Regions from separate parts of the Homo sapiens genome. Here all the other regions are linked to region 2. Evidence: promoter capture Hi-C in 16 types of primary human blood cells and fetal thymus (Javierre and others, 2016). All regions are on one chromosome and are shown on one strand. Each heading gives the region's core, a stretch centred on a gene start or on the middle of the fragment in contact. The rest is flanking DNA. Distances are from core to core; before and after follow the strand shown.

Region 1 (4,829 bases), core at 369-2,868, 2.3 Mb before region 2:
CCTTTAGGCTTCCTGGTCTGCAAGCAAATAGTTGTCCACAACATTAGAAATAATATGGAAAAACAACAGCAGCCTTATAGAGTAATAGGAGTCACAGCATATACGACAACTACTCTCAAACAAGGTGTCTTAAAGGTAAACAAGTAAGTGAGTACATTGGGCCTGGAAGACTGTACCAGTCATTTAAGTACAATAGTATGGTATGTACTGGCTACAAATGGTCTTTACATTTTTGAAAGATTATAAAAAGAAATCTGGCCTTTTAGATGAAGTTTGCTGCCCCTTGGTTTAGAGTTTTGTTTCCATGATATGTACTTGCCTAACCATTAGCATCGCTAATTACTATTACTGCTAATGGATAGTAATGATTATGTGCATTGTGGAAGGAGAAATGGATGTGTGCCTGTATGTGCCAGACACTTTGCTAAACATTTTACCTAGTCTGTCTCTTTCATTCACTGAGTAATCCTTTAAAGTAGACACTTATATTTCAATATAGAGCCAAAAAAAATAATAGCTCGGAAAGGTTAAGTAACTTGCCAAGGTTACAGGAAGCATTACACAGTAGAGCTGTTAGTCAAACCCAATGTGGTGGTGTGTTTAAGCTGTGAAGCCCCTTGTCCAATTAAATCCTACTTAGAACCCCACTATATAAAATAGTTACTCTGAGCAAAGTTGAAACAGAAGGCCAGCAACCTCAACCCTTCTCAGAATAAGCTGCTTGAAACACGAGTCAATTTTTCAAAAAAAATGAAGCTGAGAACCAGCATGGAAAATGGGCTTTCAACTCATTTCTTCCATGATCTGGCACATTACAGTTTCCCCTCTGATATACTGCTGAGGGTGAGAACAATACCAAAATAACAGGACTGCCTTTTACTTATTTCTTTGCCCAGTAAAATGGATTAAAGTGAGTCAGCAAAAGGGAGAAAGAAGGAGGGGAAGTTAAGGACTTCTTCAAAATCTACCTCATCATTTTGGAGCTCTTAGTCCTCAATTCCATCAAACACAGTGGTGCGAAGGACATCTTCCAAATGGCAGCTCATTTTACCTTAATAGTTGGTGTTTCCAGGTAAGTTTCTAGCTTTCTATCATGATAAGTTAATATATCCTATTTTATTATGGTGCCACAAACAAAAGAACTCTGAAAGGCTCAACTCTTACAAAAGGTCCAAATCCCCTGAAAAGCATCAAGTATCAAAATGCAGCCAGAAAAGATGGTATTAAATGAAAAAAAGGGGCTCCCTTTTAATGAAGTCGAGGTGTAGGACAGATTTATTAGCTTCCATTTTTCCAAGTTGCATTCTGGTGTATTTCCTGCCTATATTTCTAAGTTCAGCAGGTCTCTTTGTAGGATTACTTTTTAAAAATACAATGTTTCAAAGAATATGATGCAGCTATATCCACTACACCTGCAGAGACACACCTGTGATGATACACTGTTTCTCCAATTCACAAGGCAATGCTCTAACAGAAAACAGACCTTCTGCATGATATGCCAAGATCCTGCCATTCTTGAAAATAACCGATACTCATAAGCTGATATTATAAATGGTCTTAAAAATAATAACCAAGAATTATCCCTGGGCTAAATAGTCATTAAATTCAGTGTAACTGTCTATACTTTAGTGTTATAATTCCTTTTTCCGATATGAGATAGTGAAACAAATAATTAAAATTAAGTAGATACTTTTGATGTTGTAACACAGATGCCTGCAATATTCCTATTTGGGCTCAATTATTCTTATGCATACCATTATTTACTGATTTTTTACTGTGTGCTGGGCACTATACTTGATTCTTGATGGAGGAAAGCTAATAATAAAATAAATCTCCTTTCCTTAGAGAATTTCTATTCTGATTATCTGACTGAACCTGTGAATGAATAATTAGTGCACTAAACTCCTAGTAAAAGTACCAAGATCAAGGGGGAAAAAAAAAGTAGGAAGAGAGAATTGTCTCTGCCTACGGGGGCTGGAGAAAGGAACACATTTGAAAGGAACCTGAAGGGTAAGTCGTATTTCCAAGGAAAAAGGAGATGGCATTCCAGACTGAAAGAACAATATAAAGAAAGGCCCAAAGCAAGTGAGTAGGTGACTGTTCTAAAATCAGGACTGGATTATCTGATGGGATGACCAGAGATGTACTGTCCAAGATACCAGTTGCTAGACATGTGCCTATTTAAATTAACATTACATATAATTAGAAATTCAGTTCTCAGTTGAATTTGAAGTACTTAATAATCCCATGTTTCTAGAGTCCATCACATCAGACAACACAGAGTATTCCTTTCCTCACTGCAAAGTTCTACTGAACAGTGCTGAGTATGAGAGTATAGGGTAAGCATGGTGCTGTCTCATGGAGCCTCAACTCTATCTTCAACAGTTTAATCTTTAGTCTAAATAAAAGTGGTTTATAAACCACTATATTCTATGAAATCCCTTTAGGAATTGCCGTGGGGGACTCCACCTTGGCAGCATTGCGATAACCTGCTTTACCCCCTCCAGCTTCTACGTTTCAGTGAAACACCGCTTTTGAAGAAAGAATTCTGCCAAATTTTTTTTTTTTTAAGGCTCAAAACCCACTGTTTTTTAAGCAGGAATGTGATAGATTTGGGTTTTAGGAATATTATCTCTCAGAGCAGTGTACAAGATACGTGGCAAGAAGAGACTGGGCAGACCAAGATCAGCATAGGCTAATGGTGACATGATAAAGGACTGTATTCAGTGAAGCCTCCAAAGAAATGCACAGTTAAGAATTTGTACCAGTAAATTTATTCCAAGTAAGACTTGTGTGCACACACCAGGCAGATAATTTCCACACAAACACCAAACATTGTAGTAAAACTAGTTAACACTTTGGCCATGAAACTCAAAGATACTTGAAAAACCTCTCGATAGCACTTTGAGTCACTTAATTCTGACAAATATTAATATGTCATCCATGCTTGCCCAGTTATAATTTTACAATATAATTGTATTTTTCATTGTACTTATTATTCATTATACTTACTATATATATTTAAAACATCTTTGCTGAAATTCTCTTATCCCAAAAATAATTTTTCAGTAACTCCAAAATACCCACATGTACCTCTTAGCAGGCTATTCCAATATCAAAATTCTTTTTCTTCAAGTAACAAGTTCTCAATCCACACCATTCCTGATCACAGATATAACTGATATGCAGTTTTATAAACAGCTCTTTTACTCCTTGTTCCTATTTTAGCAGGCCAACCATCACTTCACTGATATCCCAGAGTTTTCTTGCAACAGATTCATCCATAGCTTTGGGCAACAGTTCTTCCTCTTTACAATCCCCAAAGTATCTTCCTGACACTCCTTCTACCTCAGGTGAAGAGGCCAAATAAATGGAAGTCTGGGCACCTTCTACTGGAGTTTTGAAAAAAGCCCATGACACCAAATTGAAGAGTGGTTTGACCAACAGTGGAATGTGTATGTGCCTCCCCAGATTTGTCCGTACAATACCAGGATGCAACACATTGACGGTGACATTTGTGCCTTCTAAGCGGCGGGCTAGTTCCCTGGTAAAAAGAATGTTAGCCAGTTTGCTCCGGCTATAACAAAAGCTTTTATTATAGCTTTGTTCACTGTTCAAGTCATCAAAATTGATGTCTCCGTATTTATAAAGTTTGGAAGAAACTACCACAATCCTGCTGGGAGCTGAACTTTTGAGGAGTCCAAGGAGAAGATTGGTGAGTAGAAAGTGCCCCAGATGGTTCACTCCGAACTGCATCTCAAACCCATCTTCAGTCTTCATGTAAGGGCACTGGAAGATCCCTGCGTTATTGATCAAGACATCCAGCCTAGGCTCTTCCTTTAAATGTCAAAAAGAGAATGGCAGAATTATTAAGAACACACGCCTTGTATTGCTTTTTCTGTTCATGATAATTACATTTTAATAAAAATGGGCACTTGAGACTAAAAGCATTTAATTTCAGTTGTTGGTCTATCGATCAGAGAACTACTTGAAACACTGGCAATTTTGTGTTTAATAAATGGGGAAAGGGATTCCTCCGCAGGATGTTCCTCAGATAAATACTGATGTTCATGATCTTTCATTCAACAGCTCTTTTTTCTCATTTATTAAAATGATATACAGAAAGATATTTATCTACAGTCATCTTCCAATAAAAGATGTAGAAACTAAATCTAAGACTTAATTTCTGGTTTTATGCTTTTATAACAATAACATTTACAAATATATAAACTTTAACATTGCATTAGAAAGTTGACTACGTGATCAGTACCAAGATCTTTCTCAAAACAGAAATACAGTCAATTTGAGGACAAGGCACTCCTACAATCCCATATTTCTCCCTTTAATTTCAGTTGAACTAGGAAAATATCAATTTGGGAGTTATCAGGTTAATACTGAGATCATATCAAAATTATAAGTGTACCTATGATAAAATGTTTAAAAATACTTGCAAACTACTAAAATTCTATCCCAAAATGCTTCTATGAGCTTCCAATAATTGAGAGAAAAATAGAAAAAAAAATAGATGCAGAAGCTTGATAGGAGCCAGGCTTTGTGCTTTTCGCATGTCACCACATCTAATTCCAACAACTGTATAAGCAAATGAAGCTCACAGGCTAGGTGACTTGCCCAGTATCAGAACTCCTAAGTAGCAAAATAAGATCAGATCTGAAGATGAAGTCTTTGACACCAAGGCCTATTTTCTTAATTAGTAAGCTGGCATGGCTTTCTAATTGGGATTTTCAAAACAGCTAGAGAGGCAATGAAAGCTAGACAGACCATATGCTGTAGAAAACAGGTAAGCATAGTTTATTCCCAGAGCTACTGGT
Region 2 (4,625 bases), core at 1,632-4,131:
CATCAAGCTACCAATGACTTTCTTCATGGAATTGGAAAAAACTACTTTAAAGTTCATATGGAACCAAAAAAGAGCCTGCATTGCCAAGTCAGTCCTAAGCAAAAAGAACAAAGCTGGAGGCATCACGCTACCTGACTTCAAACTATACTACAAGGCTACAGTAACCAAAACAGCATGGTACTGGTACCAAAACAGAGATATAGATCAATGGAACAGAACAGAGCCCTCAGAAATAATACCACACATCTACAACTATCTGATCTTTGACAAACCTGACAAAAACAAGAAATGGGGAAAGGATTCCCTACTTAACAAATGGTGCTGGGAAAACTGGCTAGCCATATGTAGAAAGCTGAAACTGGATCCCTTCCTTACACCTTATACAAAAATTAATTCAAGATGGATTAAAGACTTAAATGTTAGACCTAAAACCATAAAAACCCTAGAAGAAAACCTAGGCAATACCATTCAGGACATAGGCATGGGCAAGGACTTCATGTCTAAAACACCAAAAGCAATGGCAACAAAAGCCAAAATTGACAAATGGGATCTAATTTAACTAAAGAGCTTCTGCACAGCAAAAGAAACTACCATCAGAGTGAACAGGCAACCTACAGAATGGGAGAAAATTTTTGCAACCTACTCATCTGACAAAGGGCTAATATCCAGAATCTACAAAGAACTCAAACAAATTTACAAGAAAAAAACAAACAACCCCATCAAAAAGTGGGTGAAGGATATGAACAGACACTTCTCAAAAGAAGACATTTATGCAGACAAAAAACACATGAAAAAATGCTCATCATCACTGGCCATCAGAGAAATGCAAATCAAAACTACAATGAGACATCTTCTCACAGCAGTTAGAATGGTGATCATTAAAAAGTCAGGAAACAACAGGTGCTGGAGAAGATGTGGAGAAACAGGAACACTTTTACACTGTTGGTGGGACTGTAAACTAGCTCAACCATTGTGGAAGTCAGTGTGGCGATTCCTCAGGGATCTAGAACTAGAAATACCATTTGACCCAGCCATCCCATTACTGGGTATATACCCAAAGGAATATAAATCATGCTGCTATAAAGACACATGCACATGTATGTTTATTGCAGCACTACTTACAATAGCAAAGACTTGGAACCAACCCAAACGTCCAACAATGATAGACTGGATTAAGAAAATGTGGCACATATACACCATGGGATACTATGCAGCCATAAAAAAGAATGAGTTCATGTCCTTTGTAGGGACATGGATGAAGCTGGAAACCATCATTCTCAGCAAACTATCGCAAGGACAAAAAACCAAACACCACATGTTCTCACTCATAGGTGGGAATTGAACAATGAGAACACTTGGACACAGGAAGGGGGAGATCACACACCGGGGCCTGTTGTGGGGTGGGGTGAGTGGGGAGGGATAGCATTAGGAGATATACCTAATGTAAATGACAAGTTAATGGGTGCAGCACACCAACATGGCACATGTATACATATGTAACAAACCTGCACGTTGTGCATATGTACCCTAGAACTTAAAGTATAATTTTAAAAAAATTAAAAAAAAGAAAGAAAAAATCCTCCAGTCTGAAGGCATTAAGTTATCAAAAAGCAAAATATTAAAATATAAAATTTTAGATGGGCACCCACTGTGTTGCCCTGATTATCCCCCTAGAATGCTACATGCTGGAAAGAGGGGCCTTAGCAGGTTTCTAAGTCTTTAACCTTCAGGTGGAAAAATGGGGAAACACACAAGAGACACTCCTACGTATAGTTTCAGAAAGAAGTTTAATTAAAAAACAGCTTTTGAGAATAAACATTCTGGAGATGCTTCTAAATCTTCTGGGTTTCTTTTGGTTGTATCTCTTTCTCCATACAGATTTGTTCTTTCAACTCAAGGACTATCAACTCTTTTTTTTTTTTTGAGACTGAGTCTCACTTTGTCGCCCAGGCTAGAGTGCAGTGGCGCCATCTCGGCTCACTGCAAGCTCCACCTCCCGGGTTCACGCCATTCTCCTGCTTCAGTCTCCCGAGTAGCTGGGACTACAGGCGCCCGCCACCACGCCCGGCTAATTTATTTATTTATGTATTTATTTTTGTATTTTTAGTAAAGATGGGGTTTCACCGTGTTAGCCAGGATGGTCTCGATCTCCTGACCTCCTGATCCGCCCGCCTCGGGGTCCCAAAGTGCTGGGATTACAGGCGTGAGCCACGGCGCCCGGCCAGGACTATCAACTCTTGTGTTTGGTACACAGGACACAAAGCAGGTGTCCGGTAACTACTTGCGAGGGAAGATACGAATTAACCAAGGAATAAAGTGTTCCAATCTGCATTCTGTCTTGCGTGGGGAACAAAACCAAACTAAGACCCAAGGATGAGGGTTTACGGTTAAGGTCTTCAGCGTGAATAAAAGGCGGCGTGAGCACTAAACGCCGGGGGCAAAGAACACTCCCGGCCCAGAGTTTGACCCCTCCTAGCGAGTTCTTCCCGGCCAGCTGCCCAACTTTTTGGCCTCTACTCCTCCGCGGGGGCACCATAAGACTCCCTACAGGTGGGCTACACTTAGGGGTTCAAATGCTGCATTACCGCGCTCGGGTGAGCGACTGCCCGGCCTGCAACTCAAGGGACTCCCAGGCCAAGTGGCTCCGAACTCGCGAGCTGTCGGAACAGTATTATTTTTGCTGCTACGGGCCATCTGGCCCAGGGCAACAGGGGCTCTGCGAGGAACCATAGAGAAGAAGGGGCGCCAGATCCCGCGTGCCTGCCCACCCGTCCTTCCTTTGGGCAGTCACCCTGAGCTCGGCAAGCTGTACCTCACCTGTCCACCTGGAAGGCTGCCCGCTCTCCCTGAGGGTCCTGGGAAGGCGGCACGAGACCGGAAGTGCCCCCCTCAGGTGACGTCACAGTACCGCGCCGGAGCTGATCCGGGAAGCCGATGTCAGCCTGGCGCGCGGCGCACAGCTGGCTGGGAGATTTCTTACTGGCTTGGAGCCGGTGGTCCAGATCAGAGAGACCTCTTGGAGGGTGTCGGGGTTTTCCTTTCTTTTTCATTTGAATTTTATCCGCCTTTTATTTTCTGTCATCCTTGATGTGCTTCTGGCTTCTGGCTTCCCTTTCCTTCTCTCTCATTTGTTCCATGTCTGCCCCTCTTTTCTCCCTCTTCCCATTTCCCTCTTTCTGCGTTACTAGTTGCATATCTTCCCCACATACACAGGAAAGTTGATTCTCATTTGATCATGTTCATAAGCATGATCAATAAAGTATTTTTTTAATTAAGGTGTTGCCAACTTTAAGAAAATTCAGAGAATAATATTAAGTATAGAGTTTATTTGGGCTCAGTGCTTGAGAATGGCCACTCAGGAGCTTAGATTCAAGTTGCCTTGAATATACACTCCAATTAGCAGCAGTCGGAGTAGGTTTTTTTTTTTTTTTTTTTTTTTTTTTGAGACGGAGTCTTGCTCTGTCGCCCAGGCCGGACTGCGGACCGCAGTGGCGCAATCTCGGCTCACTGAAAGCTCCGCTTCCCGGGTTCACGCCATTCTCCTGCCTCAGCCTCCCGAGTAGCTGGGACTACAGGCGCCCGCCACCGCGCCCGGCTAATTTTTTGTATTTTTAGTAGAGACGGGGTTTCACCTTGTTAGCCAGGATGGTCTCGATCTCCTGACCTCATGATCCACCCGCCTCGGCCTCCCAAAGTGCTGGGATTACAGGCGTGAGCCGGTTTTTAAGGAAAGGAGAGGAGGCAGAGCTTAACTTGTTTACCAAGAATTTATATTTAAAAAACTTAAGCTATTGACTGGCTATGCTTTCTTCCTTGTATCACAAATTCCAGGAACATAAAGATAATGGGTGAGGCAGCTAATAAAGAACAAAATGCCTTTAACAATTGCCCTAAGGCATGGGAAGGCGTGGCGGAAGCCAGTATTCACTTCTGTCCGGGTCTAATAAATTTTGCATACCTCACATAGCTCAGACAGCTCTGGGCTATTTTTCTTTTCTTAGTATGTACTTTTTTTAGACATAATACTGTTGTACACAATAATCTACAGTACAGTGTAAATATAAATTTTATATGCACTGGGAAACCAAAAAAATTCTGTGAACTGCCTTATTGTGATGTTTGCTTTATTGTGGTAGTATGGAACTGAACCCCCAATATCTTCAAAGTATGCTTGGATTTAAAAAAGAGGTTTACTTAGCTCATGGTTCTGCACATTGGAAAGCTCAAGGGGCATAGTGTGAGCATCTGCTCAGTTCTGGTTAGAGTTTTTTGTGCAGTGTCACAACATGGTAGAAGGTCAAAGGGGAAGCTGATACATGTGAAAACAGACCAAACAGGAGGTGGAAAACAACCCACTCTCTCAGGGACTCTCTCTTTTCCAATCTCTCAAGAGCTGTTATCAAACCAAACTGGAGTCCAATTGCCTGTGCAGCAAGACCAAACACTGACATCAGGATTATAGTGAAAGAAAGTGAGGCATTTATTGTAGGGTCCCAAGCAAGGAGAACTGGTCAGTTAGTGCTTAAGTCTTGAACTCCCTAATTGTTTATAGGTAAGGGTTTTTAAATGCAGGGGTGTCAGAGGTTATAGGCAAAGTCATAAATCAATATATGGAGGTTATATAT
Region 3 (4,719 bases), core at 630-3,129, 2.6 Mb after region 2:
GCATCCATGGAGATTATCTCAGAGGACAGCTTCCTACAGCGTGGATGAACAGACACACGCCTGTGGCTTTGTTCTCCTTCTTTTTGCATTGGGTTGACCTGTGTATCAATTTGAAATCCCAAGAAATCCCTCTTTTTTCCATTTTGCTATCTAGTACTCTTCTATCACTTTTCATATACCATTTGAAGGACATAGTACTCAAACCAAAGCTATCGATCACCTTCAGGTGTTGTCTGAGGACCCTTGGGGAGCTTTTCTCCCCCTCCCCCCCACTCCTGCTCCCCTTTTCGGCACCTCTGTCACCCTCTCTTAAGGTCACGCCAGTTTTCCTGGCTGTCGTCCTCATGAAGGGTGGCTTCCTCCCTGAAGTGCTCCGCTCTGTCCCCTCCCTTGAGTCCCGGGCTTCACACACACAAACTCTGTTGGATGTTTTTTCCAGGAAATGCAGTTATTCTGACACTAGTGGGCCATTTCCCCGGCGTCCTCATTCCATTTCTGACAGTGCTCCTGCTACCCTCAGTAGATTATTATTATTTATTATTTATCAGCCACGACACTGTACTCTGCTTCCTACAAAATATTAAAGAAGACACAATCCGTGCGCTGAGTTTACAGCCAAGGAGAGCAGAGGCCTGGATCAGACATCACAGGGGGGGAGCTGAGAAGAAAATATTTACCGGCTCAGTCCTCCTTGGCCCTGGTAGATGGAGGCAAGGACTGGCAAAGCCCTCCCCAGGCCAGCTCCTCCCAGCTGGGCCCCCACAGCCAGCTCCCCACACTACCTACAGCACCCCAACTCCAATTTCTAGCAAGGCCTCAGGCCTCAGGCCTTTACCCGGGGGAGCGGAGGGAGGGTGGAGGATGAGGATTGGGCCCTCAGGCCTTTACATTCAGACAGGGGTGGAGGAGGAGGGCAGGTACAGATATTTCCTCTGAAACTCAAAACCAGGTAAAGGGGATGTAGGGGAGGAGGGAGAGGTCGGGGAATAAAAACCAGATTAGGAGAGCGGTCGGGGTGGAGAAGACTGTGCCCAGAGTGAAATATTCTAGCATAATGGAAAAGCCCTCATTGGGGGTCCCACACGCCTCTGGCCAAATCTCTTCTATTAGGGTTAGAAGTTAGGGTCTGTGTAGACAGCATGTGTAGACCGAGAGGTGGTGGGACTGAGAAGTCAGTGTAGACAGTGTGAGAGAGAGCGAGCTGTGGTGGGGGTGAGTAGTCGGTATAGACATCAAAGGCTGGTCAGGCTGTTAAACAGAGAAGGCTTCCTGGATTCCTAAGGGTCAGTATGAACAGAAAAGTCGCGCGCCCCAGGAGAGGCAGGGCTGACTCAGAAGGCTGGTGGACACTTTGCAGGGCTCTCCCTGGTCCTTCAGAGGTGTGGACAATTCCTGCTCCTTTCCAAGGCTGGAGTGTCATAAAGAGGGCGGAAGCTGAAAGACGATTGGACTTTTTCCTTCTCAAACTTTTCCGCCAGTTTCCTCAGGTGTTGAGAGCAGACGGGGAGCTCGCCTCAGTCCCGGGCCCCCAACCCTGGGCCAGCAAGGCCAGGAGGCCACGGCGGAGCAGCCCGTGCCACGCGCCGTGCGTCTGCCGGGCGCGGCCGCGGAGCCAGGCGAGCCGGGGGCCACCGCGGGGGGCGGGGGCGGCGGACGGACGGACCGACGGACACACCCGCGAGCACTCCAACCTCGGACCCGGCGCGCGGCAGCCGGGAATCCCTCGGGCCGGGGAAACTGCGCACGGGGCCCGGCCTGGCCGGGCCGGGCCAGAGGGCCCCGCCTCCCCCACCCGCCACCCCCGCCCACTCGGGCGCCCGTGATTGGCTCCGCCCGCCCCTGGCTGCGCGCCGAAGCCCGCCTCCCTCGCAGCTAAAGCAGACGGTACCCGGAGCGGAGCGAGCCAGAAGGGAGCATGGTCCCCGCGCCGCGGCCGCGCCAGCCCCCGCGCCGCCGCCGCCGTCCCCGCCACCGCGGATCTCGCCGCAGCTCCAGCCCCGGCCCCGGCTCCGCAGCGCCCGTCCGCAGCCCCGGCGGTCGCCGCGCTTGAGCGCAGCCCCCGCCCGGAGCCCGAGCCGCGAGCCCGGAGCCAGCCCCAGCCCCGCGGCCGCCGCGGCTGCGGGGAGAGGGCGGGGGCGATGCTGCCGGAGCCGCCGCCGCCGCCGCCGCCTCGATGAGAGCCGCGCCGCACCGCTCATAGCCGCACAGGCTGACAGGCAGGAGGACCGACTTCCCTCTCCCGGGCATCCTCCCTGGGCTGCCGGGAGGCGGCGGCGGCGGAGGAGGAGGAGGAACGAGGGGAGAAGGCGGAGAGCAGGAACGCGAGGAGGAGGACCTGGATCCGTTTCCTCCGGCCAGGACCCGAGCGGCCCCAGCCACCGCTACCCGCCGGCGCTGTCCGCTCTCCATCAGCCCTCCTGCGCCCACCCGCGACCCCGGGCTCTCTGCGCGTCGGGCCGGGGCCGGAGCCGCGCGCCGGAGGTAAGAGCCGGGCCGGGCTGGAGCGCCTCGGATGCGGCGCCGGAGGGAGACCCAGGTCCTGGCCGCCGCGTGGGGCCGGGCCGGGCCGGGCGTGGGAGCGGGGCCGGAACCCGGAACCCTGGGCTCGGCTTCGGCGGCGGCGGCGGCGACAGGAGCCTCCCGCGTCTGGACTCGCAGGCTGCAGGAGCCCTTGCGCCTGCGCTGCTCCAGGGGGAAAAAAAGGGGGGGAAAAAACTTCCTGCCCCCGGGTGTGTATGCACCGGGGCTGCCTGGGGCCACTGTCACGGTGTTCGGAGGTGCTGGAGGCTTGTGTGACCCCTGGCCGGAGCAGCCCCCCTGCTGGGCCCGGCGGCGCGCGCCCCTCTCCAGGCCACGTTCCCCTGAGCGGCCCAGGGCCCCGGCCGGGCAGGAGACCTGGAGGCGACGGAGGGCTGGCCCCCAGGGGCGGCCGCGCGCACTGTCCTTTGGGGAGGTGCGCGCCTCTGTGCAGCGAGAAGCCAGGTTGGGGTTTTCTGCCCCTCGCGTCCTCTGATCTCGCATTTGGGGACTGGGTCTCTTTACTCAATCCCAAGTAACTTTCGAGGTAGATGAGCTCGAAAACCGTCGGGAGGGAACCCGCACAGACCTTATTGTGACCCACCCCACCCCGACACACACACGCACACTTCCCTTGACACCTTGTGGGTGCCAGCGTGTTGTGGGGGGACGCGGAAAGGAGAGCTCACGGGGACGGCGAAGCGGCCAGGAGGTGGTGTCGTTGGGGAGGGGTTGTTGATGTGTGGGACAGGGTGGACCTGGAGATGTGTAGTGTGGGAGTGTGAACGCGCGCCCCGATGGCCTCGGGGGGCCGGGGGAGCCCAGGGCTCGCGTCCCGGTCTCCGTGGCCTGGAGCGGGCTGAGAGCGCTAGGGTTATCTGCGGTCGCCGCGCGGGTGCCCGCGCTGGGCAGCGTCGGCCCCGGGCCCCAAGGGAGGGACGTGCTCGCCTGGGGCCGGAGCGCGGGGCTGGGAGCCGGGGTAGGTCGGAGGTGGCTCTTAGGGCAGGTCGCCTCTGCGTTGCCTGGGGAAGGCGGGGACGCGCTGCCTGCCTGCGGCCAGCCGTCTCGGAGGAGGGGGTGGCGGCCACGCGCGAGTCTCGGATGCCTGGGTCCACCCGCTGAGAAGCCAGTTGTCGTCCCTGGGCTGTGGAACCAAGCGGCAGACGCGGTCCGTTGGCGGGCCCTCGCGCGGGCCCCCAGAGATGCTGATGGGTAAGGAGCTGCCGCCGCCGCCGCTGCCATCCCCGCCGCTCTGCAAACGTTCTCCTCCCTCCCTCCCGTGCTTGCGCCGCGGCGCGCCCCGGGCGAATCGTGGACGCAGGTATTTATGTAGCATTAGGCGAGACCTCGGCGCTGGAGGGACCAGACCGTGGAGGACGCCGAGCTGCTGCTGCCTGCGAAACTTCCACTTCGGCAGCTCAGCGGCATCCCGGCCCGCTGCTGCAGGTTCCAGCCTCTCTCCAGTCCAGCAACGCTGGGATTCGGACTCCTCTTGCAATGACAGATCTGTCCTGGTTACGGCTGTATTTATACTAGTTTCAGTCTCTTTAAAGTCATCTGTCTAGTCACTACAGAGTTTCTTCCTCGCCGTGTGGTCTTATCACTAACTCAGCCCTGGGAGGGCAGATTTGAGGAATTGCTTCATTTTCAGATGAATGACAGCAGACTTGTCCCACCTCATTCCTGATTTATTATTATTATTATTATTATTATTATTATTATTATTATTATGGAAAGAAGGTATAGAGCTTTTTAATTTTTTTGTGAGGGAGGAGAATGAACAATTTTATAGATTGTTCTTTCCGACACTTAGAGAAAACATGTCCAGTAAGCACTAGTGAATACTTTAAAGGCTGGTTGGCATGCGTGTATTTGATTAGTCCATAATCTAGGTGTTTATACAGGTATGGAGCTGTGTGCTACTGATGAATAGTCTCCGTCCCATACATTGTGCTGGAGTGCACTTGATTTATCACCCTGCTATAAATCAGGGAATTACTAGCACATGTGCCTTTTAAACTCTATATGAATTTAATGGCATTTAAATTGGTTTATGGGCTGATGCATCTAACCAATTTTAATAACTTTTCTGCACAAACATCTTATAAACCATATTTGCCTGTGATTAAGAAAAACATTTTCTTCTCCTCGGTCTCTCGGTTATGGAAATTTATAGGTCTCCAACTTTCATTTGCAAGCAGC

What was found. The method cuts DNA at HindIII sites, captures the fragments that hold promoters and counts their contacts. A CHiCAGO score of 5 or more calls a contact.
Region 1: a contact is called between a fragment that was not itself captured here and the fragment with the promoter of LDAH in region 2, in 2 of 17 cell types (activated CD4 T cells and non-activated CD4 T cells). The highest score is 5.5, in activated CD4 T cells.
Region 3: a contact is called between the fragment with the promoter of KLHL29 here and the fragment with the promoter of LDAH in region 2, in 1 of 17 cell types (M2 macrophages). The highest score is 5.5, in M2 macrophages.

The regions. Positions count from the first base shown.
Region 1 is chr2:18,551,972-18,556,800 of GRCh38, forward strand. It overlaps NT5C1B-RDH14 (NT5C1B-RDH14 readthrough), which reads right to left. Exons shown (of 11, transcript NM_001199104.2): 11 at 2,752-3,837. The coding sequence ends at 3,813. RDH14 (retinol dehydrogenase 14) reads right to left here. Exons shown (of 2, transcript NM_020905.4): 2 at 2,752-3,837. The coding sequence ends at 3,220. Among named protein-coding and RNA genes, the nearest start is that of RDH14, 6.3 kb to the right of the region's middle. The HindIII fragment of the contact is 3,937 bases long and covers 1-3,587 here.
Region 2 is chr2:20,820,220-20,824,844 of GRCh38, forward strand. LDAH (lipid droplet associated hydrolase) reads right to left here and starts at 2,882. Exons shown (of 7, transcript NM_021925.4): 1 at 2,818-2,882. RefSeq lists enhancers at 1,758-2,583, 2,386-2,455, 2,676-3,065. The HindIII fragment of the contact is 14,255 bases long and covers 1-4,625 here.
Region 3 is chr2:23,383,300-23,388,018 of GRCh38, forward strand. It overlaps KLHL29 (kelch like family member 29), which reads left to right and starts at 1,880. Exons shown (of 14, transcript NM_052920.2): 1 at 1,880-2,481. LINC02923 (long intergenic non-protein coding RNA 2923) reads right to left here and starts at 4,019. Exons shown (of 6, transcript NR_187213.1): 1 at 1-4,019. RefSeq lists silencers at 1-113, 1,617-1,966, 2,137-2,996, 3,237-3,356, 3,377-3,546 and 1 more and an enhancer at 1-113. The HindIII fragment of the contact is 11,520 bases long and covers 1-4,719 here.